3 separate regions of the Homo sapiens genome follow, and regions 1 and 3 are each linked to region 2. Evidence: promoter capture Hi-C in human tissues and cell types (Jung and others, 2019). All regions are on one chromosome and are shown on one strand. The core of a region is centred on a gene start or on the middle of the fragment in contact, and the rest is flanking DNA. Distances in the headings are between cores, read along the strand shown.

Region 1 (4,919 bases), core at 279-2,778, 210 kb before region 2:
ACAAACAAACAAAACAAAACAAAACAAAAACTTTCCCACACAATTAAAAAATAGAAAACACTTCTTAATTCATTCTGTGAGGCCAGTATTACCTTGATACCAACACCAAAGACCCTACGAGAAACCCCAAATAGCCAAAACAATGTTGAAAAAAGAAGAACATATCTGGAAGATTCCTATTTCTTCCAGATTTAAAAACTTCCTAGAAAGCTATAATAATCAAAACAGTGTGCTATTGGCATAAAGACAGATGTACAGACAAACAGAATAGAACAGAACTAGAAATAAAACCTTGAATATACGGTCAAATGATTTACAACAAGGGTTTGTGCTTGTCCTTTCTCCCATTACCATTCAATGGGAGAAAGTGCAGTCTTCCAACAAATGGTGCTAGGAAAACTGGATATCTATATGCAAAAGAATGAAGCTGGGCCTTTATCTAACACCATATCCAAAAATTAAGTCAAAATGGATTAAAGACCTGAATGCAAGTTCTAAAACTATAAAACTCATAGAAGAAAACATAGTGCAAAATCTTCACAACATTGGATTTGGTGATCTCTTGGATACAATACCAAAGGCACAGATGATAACAACAAAAATTAGGCAAACTGGACTTCATGAAAATTTTAAAATTTTGTGCATCAAAAGACACTATCAACAGAGTAAAAAGTCAACTCACAAATGGGAGAAAATATTTACAAATCACATTTTCAGTAAGACATTAATAACCAGAATATTTACAGATCTCTTAAGACTCAACAATAACAACAACAACAACAAAAAAAAACAAGTTGATCCAAAAATGGCCAAAGGACTTCAATAGACATTTTTTTCCTGAGTAGATATATAAATGGTTAATGAGCACAAGAAAAGATGCTCAATATCATTAATCATTAGGGAAATGCAAATGAAAACTATAATAAGATAACATCATTTCATACCCATTAGGATGGCTACTATCAAAAAAAGAGAAAGTAACATGTTGGCGATGATGTGGAGTAACTGGAAACTTTGTACACTATTGTTGGAATATAAAATGGTATAGTCACTGTGGAAAACAGTATGACACTTCCTCAAAAAGTTGAAATAAAATTCATTTCTTATAATATTATATTTCTATTCTGAAGCCATCACTAAGTTCTGCACTACTCCCAGAATTTATTTTCCCTTTATCTATATTTGCATAGAATTTATATATATTTCTATTGGGGGATTTATCAAATTATAACTATGAATTTGTCTTTCTCTTCATTTTTCACTAAGTTGTGAGCTTAATAAATATCTTCTTTTGCTAGCACCTAACACAGTGCCTATATCAGAACATACACCAAATAATCTAACTAGATACATGAACAAAGAATATCTGACACATTTGGACCTTTTTAACTCCATTCAATAGCGTTAAAATATCTATAACTATGTCACACTTCAGTATCTCAGGACTACTACTAAGTATATGCCAGATAAACCAAGCATATGATGGAAGATTCGTCATACAACAGAAAGAGTAAATCTCCATGTCTTCCCTTTTACTATATATGAATTCTTTCCTATGAATATCTTATATACTTTGGACAATATGTTAACTTACGTAGTTTGTGAAAATTCCACTCAGTATTGAAGTCTGAAAATGGTACTGTCAAACTACTCAGTTTACTTCCATTAAATAAGAGTTGTCTTCTGTTTGAATACATTTTGAAACTGACATAATTTAAAACTTACAACACTTAAAAATGGGTACTTTAAGAATTTCATGCAAAATAAAAACTAACTTAACACTGGAATACTAAAGGATTGGCTTATTACTAAAAACATTATTTCTATAATATTCAGCATTGTTGCCTGTAAAATTTAGGAACATTAACATGAGGTACTCAGGAACAAGTGCCTGCGTATCCTTGTAACATAGGCCCAGATTTTCTTTTTTCTTTTTTTTTTTTTTTTGAGACGGAGTCTCACTCTTTTGCCCAGGCCGAATTGCAGTGGCACGATCTTGGCTCACTGCAAACTCCACCTCCCTGGTTCACGCCATTCTCCTGCCTCAGCCTCCCGAGTAGCTGGGACTACAGGCGCCCGCCACCACGCCCAGCTAATTTTTTTTTTTTTTGTATTTTTAGTAGAGATGGGGTTTCACCATGTTAGCCAGGATGGTCTCGATCTCCTGACCTCGTGATCCACCCGCCTTGGCCTCCCAAAGTGCTGGGATTACAGGCATGAGCCACCGTGCCCGGACATAGGCCCAGATTTTCTTTAAAGAAGGATTACTGGATATTTTCTCATCTGTATGTAAACACAGCAATGCCACATGACATCTAATTTTGCAGTGTAGTCACAAAATCCAATAAATCGGCTATGACCAAGAACATGGCCAGGAATATTAAATTTGCTATACATTGACAATTTTCCTATACAGCAACTGTGTTGCTAGGCAGCTCTGCTAAAGGAATGCCTGTAATTAATGACAAGAACAGGCTTTCTTCTGTCTTATTACACACATGCACACACACACACATGCACACACACAATTTTTTCTGAAAGGAAAAAACAGAACTCAATTTCTGAAAACAGAATATTTACAATGCATACAATTACATACGTTTTTATTAGTTAAAATAAATTTCTAATAATTCAGACTAATTGTAAAATGAATAATTAAAAAGTATCACCATGAAAGTGTTTTCTTAGTAATTATCCATATAAGGAAAATTTATTTTTACATAATTCCCAAAGAGAGATGCTTAGATGTTGTAATTATCCATCTATTTATGTTATGGGGATAGAGATCCACATTAAAGCTTATTTAGACAGATGAAAGGATAAAGAAAATGTAGTATATACAATACAATGGAATATTATTCAGTCATTATAGAGAAGAAAATGAGTTACATGAGGCCACATGATCCTGGAGGACATTATATGAAATGAAATAAGGCAGTCACAGAAGAACAAATATTACATGATTCTACTACATGAGGTATCTAAAACAGTCAAACATATAGCAGCAGTTGAATGGTGACTGCTGGGCCCGGGGGCAGGGGGAATATGGAGCTGCTATTCAATTGGTATAATGTTTCTGTCATGGGAGATGACTGAATTCTAAAGATCTGCTGTACAGCACTGTGCCTATAGTTAATACTACTATACTGTACACTTAAAAAGGTATTAAGAGGATAGACCTTGTGATAAGTGTTCTTACTACAGCATTTAAAACAGGCTTATTTAGTCATTTCCAAAGTACTAAAAGCAGGAGAAGTCATGAGACCTATGACTGAAAAAATTATGTAAAATCTAAAAACAATACAATTTGGACTAAAATATTAATAGAAATGGAAAATAAAGGTTAAAGCATACTCCTATAGTACTTACTGTTTGTGATACTGACTTAGCACCTAATGCTTTATATAAACACTTTAAAACAATTTCAGAATATTTTGTATGTTTGTGTCCTGCCCCCTTAACTAGAATGTAAGCCCATCAAAGGTGGTATCGTTTACACATAGTATAAGAATCAGTATTTTTTTTCTATCAGAGTCACTGGCATTCATCAACACTCTCAGATGTCCCCACCAACACAGGTTTCATCAGAGGTAGATCAATAAATATTTACTGATGCTCATTCTGCTTTTTCTCAAAATATGCATCCACTTATTAGTTCAGTTACTTATAAGTTTTCTTAGAAGTTTTCTTGCATGTAAGTCACTTACATGTGGAAAAGATAAAAATGAATGCTCCCTTAAGGGTTAGTTCTGGCATTATTTGGAGAACTTGTTACTGCTCTCATTTAAAACAGATGCCCTCACTGACTCTGTTTACCAAATGAGGCAGATTTATTACCTGTCAAGCCCCTTTTTACCACCACCAAAGAGGCTTTGTAGTTGTAACTTAAAAATGGCAATCCTCTTATCTCTGGTGACCAAATGGGACAAACTTCTCAAATGTATACTCTCTCTACCCACACACTGAAGTAGAATAGTCACAGATTACTATGAGTCATGCCATTATTGGCCTTTGGCTGATATTATAATTTATGTGTTCATATGTTTGGTGTCACAACAGTTTCATGTTCTGGATCAAAATGGCATAAGAAGGACCAAAAACTTTTAGTGAGTTAGTTAAATTTTTGCCAAGTGGTAGATATTTAGTTTATGTGGGTTTTTTTTATGTCTTTGTGTGACATTAACTAATCTGTTTATGAGTCAGTTCATAAAAAAGGATTCATTACAACTATACTAAAATCTAAGGAAATCTAGAGCCCGATAAAATGATGGTAAAATATCAATTAGCCTACAAATTACTAACATTAAGCTTTTAGATAAAAGAAGAAAGCTTCCTTCTCAATAATGAAAAAGATAACCCCATCAATGAAAACAAGTACACGATGTTAAGGAAAATTTTTACTCAGTATCTACAGTATACTAGGCATTGGAATTAACAATAAGGACCAAAATACTTAAGAATTTACCCGGGAGAGACAATTATAAAATAATCAAATAAACTGTGATAAGCACTATAAACAAAAAGTATGGAAAGTACTACACAGTACTTCAAAAGCACATATTAGATAGCCATCACTTTGTGTGTGTTTGTGCAGATGAGTGACGGGTTGGTCAGGGAAGGTGTATCTGAGTAAATGATTATTTCTTTAAGCATGGTTTCCTTTGGCTCTCTGAATATATTTATAATGGCTGCTTTGAAGTTTTTGTCTGTTAAGTCCAAAATTGAGAAATGAAGTAAAAATAGGAGTTGACTAGGTGAAGAGGGGAGGGTAACAGTCTTGCTTATAAAAGGAATTGCAGATCTTATAGGACTGAGGTAGAAAGGAGTATAGTGAACTTATGAAGTTAAAGATCAGGGTGGCTGGAATATAGAATGCCAGAGTGTCAGGGAGAGAAGTGAACAATCCACCCGGAGAGGTG
Region 2 (5,087 bases), core at 2,167-4,666:
AAGGAGAAACTTGTCCCAAATTGGACTCCATTTTGGTTCAGGGCAGGTCAATGCCCAGCCCTCTGCTCTTCTGGTTCTTGGACTTACAGAACCACTGTCCCCCCAGCTTTTGAAGCAGGTGCTGATGGGCCTGACAAGCCTCAGCAGGAGGCACCCTGAATGGCTGGTGATGTCTGCCCAGCTGGAGCAGTTGAAGCAGCAGCCAAAACCCTGGATGCTCATCCCTTCCCACATCAGAACACAGCTGCTCTGGGTCATCGCCCAGTGAGCAGGGTCCATCATCTGTAGACAGGGAAGATTCAGACAAAAGGACTCATAGCAGGAAGGAGGAAGAGAGACGAGAGCCCTGGCTCCAAACAGGCTACATGATGCTAGAATAGGGAAGGAAAGCTCCATGCCATGGGAAGTGGCGTGAGGATGGGGTCTGCAGGGTCCTCGAGGGGAAATCCACCACTGGTTCTCACCAGCAAAGCATATGGCCACTGTGAGTCCCAGCCTTCTCATTTGTAAAACGAAAATAGCCATTATCGTAGGAAGGCTATGAATACTGCTGCCTGTGATTTATTGAACATTTTTTGTATGTCAGACACTCTATTGAGTCAATCGTTCAATCTTCATAACAAATATCTATTAAATCATTCTGATCCCCATTTGACAGATGGAAATGAGTCTTAGGTTAAGAAACTTGCTCAGGCTGGGCGCAGTGGCTCACACCTGTAATCCCAGCCCTTTGGGAGGCCAAGGCGATTGGATAACTTGAGGTCAGCAACTTGAGACCAGCCGGGCCAATTTGGTGAAACCCGTCTCTACTAAAAATGCAAAAATTAGCTGGTTCTGGTGGTGCATACCTGTAATTCCAGCTACTTGGGAGGCTGAGGCACGACAATTGCTTGCGATTGGGAGGTGGAGTTTGCAGTGACCCTAGCTCATGCCACTGCACTCCAGCCTGGGCAACAGAGCAAGACTTCGTCTCAGAAAAAAAAAAAAAAAGAAAGAAAGAAGAAAGAAGGAAGGAAGGAAGGAAGGATGGATGGAAGGAAGGAAGGAAAAGAAAGAAAGAAAGAAAGAGAGAAAGAAAGAAAGAAAGAGAAAAAGAAAGGAGGGATGGAGGGAAGAAAGGAAAGAAAGAGAGAGAGAAAGAAAGGAGGAAGGGAGGGAAGAAAGGAAAGGAAGGAAGGAAGGAAAAGAAAGAAAGAAAGAAAGAGAGAAAGAAAGAAAGAGAAAAAGAAAGGAGGGAGGGAGGGAAGAAAGGAAAGAAAGAGAGAGAGAAAGAAAGGAGGAAGGGAGGGAAGAAAGGAAAGGAAGGAAGGAAGGAAGGAAGGAAGGAAGGAAGGAAGGAAGGAAGGAAGGAAAAGAAAGAAAGAAAGAGAGAAAGAAAGAAAAAGAAAGGAGGGAGGGAGGGAAGAAAGGAAAGAAAGAGAGAGAGAAAGAAAGGAGGAAGGGAGGGAAGAAAGGAAAGGAAGGAAGGAAGGAAGGGAAAGAAAGAAAGAAAGAAAGAGAGAAAGAAAGAAAGAGAAAAAGAAAGGAGGGAGGGAGGGAAGAAAGGAAAGAAAGAGAGAGAGAAAGAAAGGAGGAAGGGAGGGAAGAAAGGAAAGGAAAGGAAGGAAGGAAGGAAGGAAGGAAGGAAGGAAGGAAGGAAGGAAGGAAGGAAGGAAGGAAACTAATTTGCCCAGTATTTCCTAGCAGGTAACCAGTGAAGCCAGGATTTGATCCCAAGTCTGTCTGATGCCAAAGCCTGTCCTCCCAATAACATCCACAGCTTCTCCAGTGTCCCTTCCCCTTCTTGTTTCTGTGACTAAATGCCCCAAACCATGTGGTCTTCATGGTTTCAAAGAAAAGAGGCACCACTGTCTTTCCAGCCCCACACTGACAGTAAAAATGCGTTAGTTCCTCTGTGTCTGGCAGAGACTCAGCAAGATGTAGCATGCAGCTCTGCCAGTGGAAGCATTGTCAGTACACAAGGAGCCCCACGGGTATCTAGCAAATGGACCAAGTCTCAGCACAGCCAAGCAGGGCGTCAGAAACGCAGGTTTCACAGCCATTGTCGTCTGCTTTCCAAAGGGTCTGAACTGAGGACATAATCTGTGCAATGGAGGTTGAAGGGCTTTCCAGCACCACAGAGCTTCATGGAACACCCAGGACCCTGAGATGGCCCCCCTCTCTGATCTCACGTCCTGCTGTTTGCCTCTCACTCACTCCTACTTCTATCTATTTGTACCTCAATGGGGCCACACTCATTCCCACCTCAGGGCCTTTGCACTTGCTGTTACCTCTGCTAAAAGTGCTCCTCCTTTTGCCTGGGAGAAGCTGTCTTGGGATCTTCACAAGACTTTGTCCTTCTTGTGGTTCAGTCTCAGATCACAGTCCCCTCCTTAAGAGACCTCTCCTGACTACCCCTTCTAAATCAGCAGCCCCAGGCCAGGTGCAGTGGCTCACGCCTGTAATGCCAACACTGGGAGGCCAAGGCAGGAGGATTGCTTGAGCTCAGGAGCTTGAGACCAGCCTGGGCAACATAGCGAGACCTCCTCTCTTCTAAAACTAAAAAAATCAGCTGGGCTTAGTGGTGTGTGCCTGTAGTCCCAGCTACTCAGGAGGCTAAGGTAGGAGGATTGCTTGAGCCAGGGAGCAAGGCTGCAGTGAGCCATGATCGCGCCACTCCACTGCAGCCTGGGGAACAGAGCAAGACCCTGTCCCCGCCCCCCAAAAAATCAGCCCCTAATCTGTTTGTATACATCACATCTCCCTGCTTTACTCCCTTTGTAGTACTTACTACCTGAAATAATTCTGCTCATTATTTGCTGACATGCTAGAAAAGTGCCTGGCAAATGATTGACTCTCAATGAAGATGTGCTGAATGCAAGGCTTCATGAATGAAGAGGAAATCTCACTAACGTCTTTTGTAATAAGGACCCAGGTACCTATGTTCAAAAGTGCCTCAATCCTAGTTAACAAGGGCAGAGACCACGAGAAACAACACTGTGTTTAGTAGCAACTTAACAACCAGCCAGCAGTTCTGTCCACACACACACCACCGGGCATGGTTCCAAAGCTAAAAAGGCACTAATTGCTTTTCTATAAGGAGGTAGAACACAGTCCCTCCGTGTTCTTTAGGCCTGATGGTCTGCATTATCGGATCTGTTACCGTGTTAATTGTTCCTGTCTCACACAGCCGGTTTGGGCTTTCTTCTGCATATGTCTGGGATGGTGACGGGTTCCTATATAGAGGAGTACTGGGGAAGCCTCTGTGTGTGTGTGTGTGTCCGTGCATATGTACACATGTGTGTAAAAAGCAGCCACACGCTGAGAATGGTTAACGGGTAGCCAGGCTGTCTGTACTCAGGGCCCTAAGACTGGCCCAGGAAAGGGCCGGGGGAGGTGGGGCGGGGTGAAGGTGGAGCGGGCTTGGCTTGTGCTCACTGCCTTTTCCACAACAGGAGTACAAATGCTGGAGTGAGTGAGGTGAACTCAAGTCGCCTTTAGGAATGGCTGAAAAAGCCCACACCTGGAAATCACTCCCTCCCTGCTCCTCCACGGCAGGTTGCATCTGCGAGACGCTTCGGTCATTAGAGGAATGAGCCGGGAGTGAGCAATTCACCAGCTCTCCAGCACTTGGTGGAAAGCAGCAGGCAAGGATGGATGTGGTTGACAGCCTTCTTGTGAATGGAAGCAACATCACTCCTCCCTGTGAACTCGGGCTCGAAAATGAGACGCTTTTCTGCTTGGATCAGCCCCGTCCTTCCAAAGGTAAGTGTCGGAAGCTGTTATTTTAATTCAGGAAACTATTGAGTTGTGGGAGAAATCAGCAAAGGCAAGGCTGATAAAAAATATATATAACCAAGTCATTGTGAGACAAGGCTAGATAAAGTCATATGTTCAGAAGTTTGGAGAAGAGATTAAAAAGCAGAATAGAGTCAAATATTCTTATTGTCCCCCATGGGGGAGTTGGGCATTCATGAATAGGACTTGGGGGAACAAAAGCAGGGGAGGAAAAGCTGAGTGAAGCAAGAGGGACTACAAGTGTCAAAGCCTGAACTTACAAGCACAGCAGAAAAGGTGTTGTCACCATGCAGCTGTTTTCTTTTCTTGGGGGGAAACCCAGCATGAAGTGATTAAAGTGAAATAATGCTTAGCAGCCAGGAAAGAAAGTGATCACTGTTCACTTGAGGAGCTTTGTTCTTAAGAAAAAGTGGTTCCCTGAGTGATCCTTTAACAAACCAACCTTCTAAAAAGAAAATAATTCAGTCTCTGCTTTCCTCAATTTGTTTCCGCAAAATGTTGCCAGGACAGGAATCGTGGGTCCAGTGATGTACACCCCGGTGGGGGGAAAATCGGCAGGAATTCACCCTTGGCTTCGGTTTTAGCATTCTGCTGTCATCACCTCCATCCCTCCGTCTTGCTCCTGTTTCTCTCTGCAGAGTGGCAGCCAGCGGTGCAGATTCTCTTGTACTCCTTGATATTCCTGCTCAGCGTGCTGGGAAACACGCTGGTCATCACCGTGCTGATTCGGAACAAGCGGATGCGGACGGTCACCAACATCTTCCTCCTCTCCCTGGCTGTCAGCGACCTCATGCTCTGTCTCTTCTGCATGCCGTTCAACCTCATCCCCAATCTGCTCAAGGATTTCATCTTCGGGAGCGCCGTTTGCAAGACCACCACCTACTTCATGGGTAAGTTGCTGCTGGTGACTCTTTCTGGAGCTTGCCCCAGACCCCACTCAGCCCCAGACCTTCCCAAACCTCTGACAATCACAGCAAAGGAGCCCTGCTGAGGGCTGAATCACAGAACATCAGGCTGTGCATGGCTGTGTGCACGGACATTGGTGCTGGCTTGACAGTCATCCTTATACGTTCCCCACAAGTCGGTCCCCATCATCCATGTTGGAGGTCAGTTTCTAAGAGTGAAATAAATTGATAGGAAAACACAGGGGCAGTTGATTTTGCTTGCTTCTATTTGAAGGGAAGAGGGACTTGCTTGCTTCTGTTTGAAGTCAGAAGTGACTTTAAGCTGCTCTATCCCTTTCTGGAAGCTGTTGACTGTGTCCTGATCTATACACAACTTGAGTCCTGGCTTCTAGGGAGGGTGAGGAT
Region 3 (5,072 bases), core at 390-2,889, 130 kb before region 2:
AAAATTTTAAGGAAAGAGGGTGTCAGTTCATTCACATTTCATTCCTTTAATATCACAGGCCATGAAGAATAGATTGCCACATTACACTTGTACCATATTTTAAATTGCAGGCCAGTATAGTAGATGATTTTTCCCCTTCTACCCCATTTTTTCCAGGGTTGCCATAGTTAAATAGGTATGATCCTTGGTTACTGAATATAAAATGGGAGAATATACAAATACTATTAACATAAATTTAGTGGTTCTTACCCAGTATTTCATAATTAATAATACATACTCCTGACATCAGTAATGATCTTTTGCTCTGTATTACATAACTTGGCATGAAAAAATAAAATGAAATTGAACAATAGCCAACCTGTGCTTTCCTCATGTATACCAAAGGTTCTTTAAGATGTTCAGGAGGTGCAGCAGGATGACTAGGTAAAGGAAACCTAGGAGCAAAAAGAGGCAGCTAAATATCACACATTATTCTCTTGGTTAGATATTACTTACCTCTGTAGTCCATGTTATAAACTGTTTTCCCAGTAACATTTCATTTTATATTCAAAATGTACTGTTTTTATTAAGAAAATAGATTGATGTAGTCAACAAATACTTGGGCCATTCTAGGTACTAAGTATAAGGTGGTGATTGAGATAACATTCTCTGTTCTCATGGACGTAACATTCTCGTGAAGAAAGCCAATAATCACAAACACATACAAATAAAATAATATCAGATTGCAGTAAGTGCCGTGAGAAAATGAAAGCAGGGTAATAAGACACAATAAATTTGGAGGTCAGTGAAGTCCTCTTGGGGATTTTATATTTAAACCAAGACATGAGTGTGAAGGAGCCAACCATGCAAAGATCTGGGGGAAGAATATTCCAGGCAAAGGGATGGCAAGCACAAGAATTCTGAGGAGGTAATGCTTGAAATGTTTAAGGATCAGAAAAAGTCAGGGCCACTGGAACATAATGACTGAAGTGCAGAGTGGTATGAAATCACAGATAGAAAAGGCAGTAGGAAGACATGATGGTTCAATGTTTATTTGGAGATTCCAATCCATTTCACAACAATATATAACTCCTCTTGAAATTAGTCATCAGACTTGTACCTACAGCAAAACAGTCATGTTCCAATAATCAGGAACCATAGACTGAATTCTCAATAAATTCCTGGTCCAAAGTGGGACAAAAACATGTAAAAGGTTAATAATTTTCAAAACCACTTGCATCTGTCCTGGAGCCTACATGTAAAAGGCTAAACTGTCCATAGAAACATTGCTGGAATAGAGAAAGGCAACCTATCCAACCTAATCTATAAGACAGCTTCACAAATTGATTATTTCTGGCAAATTATTTTTCTACTAAAATCTACATTTCATGTATCTTTCGCATTCACAAATGAAAAAAAATTTAAGTCTCTAGATACCTTGATATTTCTTGTCTTATATGTAAGACAGTTTAAAAACTATCTCACATTGTCCAATATACCATTTGCTTCCACTTTTAATGGTAATTATGTAAAATTTAATAAAGCTTAGAAATTTAGGATTAAGGCCAAACGTGGTGGCTTATGCCTGCAATCCCAGCACTTTGGGAGGCCGAGGTGGGTGGATCACGAGGTCAGGAGCTCGAGACCATCCTGGCTAACATGGTGAAACCCCGTCTCTACTAAAAATACAAAAAAATTAGCCAGCCGTGGTGGCACATGCCTATAGTCCCAGCTACTGGGGAGGCTGAGGCAGGAGAATGGCGTGAACCTGGGAGGCAGAGCTTGCAGTGAGCCGAGATTGCACAACTGCACTCCAGCCTGGGCAACAGAGCAAGATTCCGTCTCAAAAAAAAAAAAAAAGAAATTTAGGATTAAAATTTGAGAGACTTTACTGATGATCTTAATAGTTATTTAATGATCAAAGAAACATATCCAAAATACAGGTAACAAGAGGAGACAACTTGAAAGTCATTCATATTAAGACCAAAATCAAGTTAGATATTTATTTTTTCAGAAATATTTAATGACAACCTACTCAATATAAAAGAGATACAGAAGTGAACAAAACTAGCTAAAATACCTGCCCTCATGGAGCTTACATTTAGTAATATGCAGAGATAAGAGTTGCCAGATAGGAAAAATGCACAGAAACTTATACAGCACACTTGACTCTATTTTTTCTTGTCCCCCAAGTCTCCCTAAATAACCTAAGATGTTCTACCCACTGACAGTAAACTATTTTAGGCAACCATTATTCCTTGCCTACATTTATCCAGCAGGTTCCTAAGCGCTTCCAGACTGTTTTCAACCTATTCACCAATTTGCCTGGATGTTGGCCAGAAGTGATGTCTTCCTTATTCACCAGTAATTGTAACTCCAGCATTGAGCAAAATGCCTGGTACACAGTAGATAACCAATATATTGCTGAATGAATAAAATGCAAATTTGATCATGTTACTATTTTACTTACAATTTTTAAATGGCACCCAAATGCTTTTAGGATCCAGTCTACAAAGTCTTAAGAGGCACAATCCTGTTTATAAATCTAGAATCGTCCTTAGCCATGATCCCTTCACCTGCTACCATTCAGCCATACAAACTTTTGTACCATGTTTGCACCACACTCTTTTCCATTTCTAAATCTCTGAGCCTGCTATTCCCTTCTGCCTGAAGTGCTTTTCTTCTCTACTCTTTCCCCTGAGAAACTCTAGCTTAGCTTTCTGATCTCAGCCTGGATATTGCTTCCTTTGGTAAGCCACCATGACATCCCCAAATCTAAGTTAAATGCCGGCCTTACGTGTTCCTTGTATTTCCCTAATCATTGCACTTATTTTACTGTACTGTAATTGCCTCTTTAAAGTCTGTATGCCCAACTGGGATGTAAGTTCCAGGAGGCAAAGACTGTCTAGCCTGTTCATTAACAACAGCACCTGGCTCTGTGCACAATAGCAAACATACAGTAGCATTTCAAACTAAGAGGGCAAAGAAGAACTGTATGTTTAGGACGTTTCAGAGGTACCCAGGTCTACTGCTTGAGCACTCTCCCAGCGAAAGCCATGAATGTGTACGAAGACTTACCCAAATCTGTGGTCTAGTGTAAGGTATCCATTATCTAACATCCTTCCATTTTAGACCCACTACTGTTTGACACTTGTAACTCTCTAAGGTATGGTAGACATTTGCATATATCTACTATAACAGCAAACTATGCTATATGTTTTTATAACATGCACATATAGAATAAGATTGTTAAGGTTTATTTACTTCTTTATGTTCCTTGAGGGAAAAAGAATAGGTCATCTAATTTCTTATAAACTGCTCTGTACAAAGTACAATGAAGACTAACACACAGAAATAAATTGATCTATTTTCATTTTGCATGTAAAGATTGTCTTAAATACAGTAAGGCTAAGACTAATAATTGCACTGTCTCCTCAACTCAACAAATATTTGTCATGTGTTAGCATTGGTAGGTGGCTCAATAACTATTTGCTGACTCAATGTCATTTATTTGATGCTATAGGAAATATGAAAGAAATGTAAGACACAATTTTTGTTCCAGAACATTTTTAATCCAGTCAAGAGATAAGACATATACCTATGTGAGACATAGTAAAATGTATGGGCTTTGGAATTATATAGCTGGAGGTTAAGGCCTAGCACTGCCATTTGCTAGCTATATGATCTTCAACAAGTTACTTAAGTTTCTGCCATGGTTTGAATGTTTGTCCTTTCCAAAACTCATGTTAAAATTTGCAATTGTAACAGTATTAAGAGGTGGGATCTTTCAGAAGTGATTAGGCCATAAGAGCTTCACCTACGTGGGTGGGATTGGTGCCATTATAAAAGGGTGGGTTAAACCCCCTCTTGCCCTCTCACCTTCTGCCATGGGATAATGCAGCAAGAAGGCTCTCACCAGATGCTGGCACCTTGATATTGGACTTCCCAGCCTCCAGAACTGTGAGCCAATAAATTTCTGTCCATTATAAATTACCCAATCTCAGGTATTCTGTTATAGCATCACCAGACAAACTAAAACATGGTTTAAGCCTCAGTTTTCTCTTCTGTAAAATGGTGATCATAATAAATTTTACTTCATAGGGTTGTAATGAAGATTATATGGAATAAGCCAATGCATATAAAGTGTTGGCATAAAATAAGCATTCAATCACTGTAAATTATCATTAATACTAAATAGCTATTAACACAATAATATATAACTAATTGTTTTAAATGAATGGAAAAGATAATTAAAGTATGCAATCTGAAATGGAGAGTGCTAACCTACACTAGTTTAAAATTTCATGTAAATAAAAAAATACAGAAAATTTTCTAGTGTATTTGTTAAATAAGAAACTGACTAAAATCTTTGTAATGCTTACTAAAACAAGTAAAACGAAGTGTGCTGTTTTCAGTCTGTATAGTCTGTATAGCTCATGTGTTCTATACCTCTATTAGGCATAAGGATGTGTATTTTTTATCTCCCATTGTTTAATATTACCTAATGAATATTCATACTTTCCTTTTTGCTTTCCTTATTCATCCATCTAATGGTTGCTGCCAATGAAAAATGCAACAGAATACGCTAAGTCTTCTTTATTCTTTTGACTTATGTTAGGGGAAATGTTTCTTCCCCACCCTTGATGTGCACTTCCATATGAAAAGAGTTCCATTACTGTAACATTCTTGGACTCTCTCTAAGGCTTAACTCAATACACCACAGAAGAGGTTTAATGCCTTATTCAACTTTTAAATTTGAGAAGAATAAACTGAACATACTGCCCCTGATCCAATGCTATTTGACTGGAAGGTTAAATCCATTTAATTCTGGAGTTCAGCTGAAAGACTAATTTTGCTCTCATACTAAGCTATGTCCTCCTATCTAGTCTTTATCGGTAATGAAAGTGTAATTTTGATCTCCCATCTGCTTTTTTGTTTTATCTTGTTTCTTAATTTGTTCAGAACCCAAATGAGGAATAAAAATAATATCACTGGACTGCTTAAAAAAAAATCCCAACGAGTTATTCAGAAAATATATACTTAAAGTTCTATTGTACAGAATGCCAACAATATGATAATGAATAAAACATAGT

What was found. Contacts are between HindIII fragments. The study calls those that stand out against the background at their distance.
Region 1: a fragment that was not itself captured here is called in contact with the fragment with the promoter of CCKAR in region 2 in 3 of the 25 tissues and cell types used here (H1 embryonic stem cells, IMR-90 fibroblasts and dorsolateral prefrontal cortex).
Region 3: a contact is called between a fragment that was not itself captured here and the fragment with the promoter of CCKAR in region 2, in 2 of the 25 tissues and cell types used here (IMR-90 fibroblasts and thymus).

What each region holds. Positions count from the first base shown.
Region 1 is chr4:26,700,989-26,705,907 of GRCh38, reverse strand. All of the region lies in intron 13 of TBC1D19 (TBC1 domain family member 19), which reads right to left. LOC124900179 (small nucleolar RNA SNORD74) reads right to left here and starts at 3,599; the gene lies at 3,520-3,599. The HindIII fragment of the contact is 4,051 bases long and covers 1-3,553 here.
Region 2 is chr4:26,488,813-26,493,899 of GRCh38, reverse strand. CCKAR (cholecystokinin A receptor) reads left to right here and starts at 3,416. Exons shown (of 5, transcript NM_000730.3): 1 at 3,416-3,744; 2 at 4,416-4,667. The coding sequence starts at 3,633. The HindIII fragment of the contact is 14,703 bases long and covers 1-5,087 here.
Region 3 is chr4:26,615,975-26,621,046 of GRCh38, reverse strand. TBC1D19 (TBC1 domain family member 19) reads right to left here. Exons shown (of 21, transcript NM_018317.4): 4 at 359-434. Among named protein-coding and RNA genes, the nearest start is that of TBC1D19, 34 kb to the right of the region's middle. The HindIII fragment of the contact is 4,224 bases long and covers 1-3,751 here.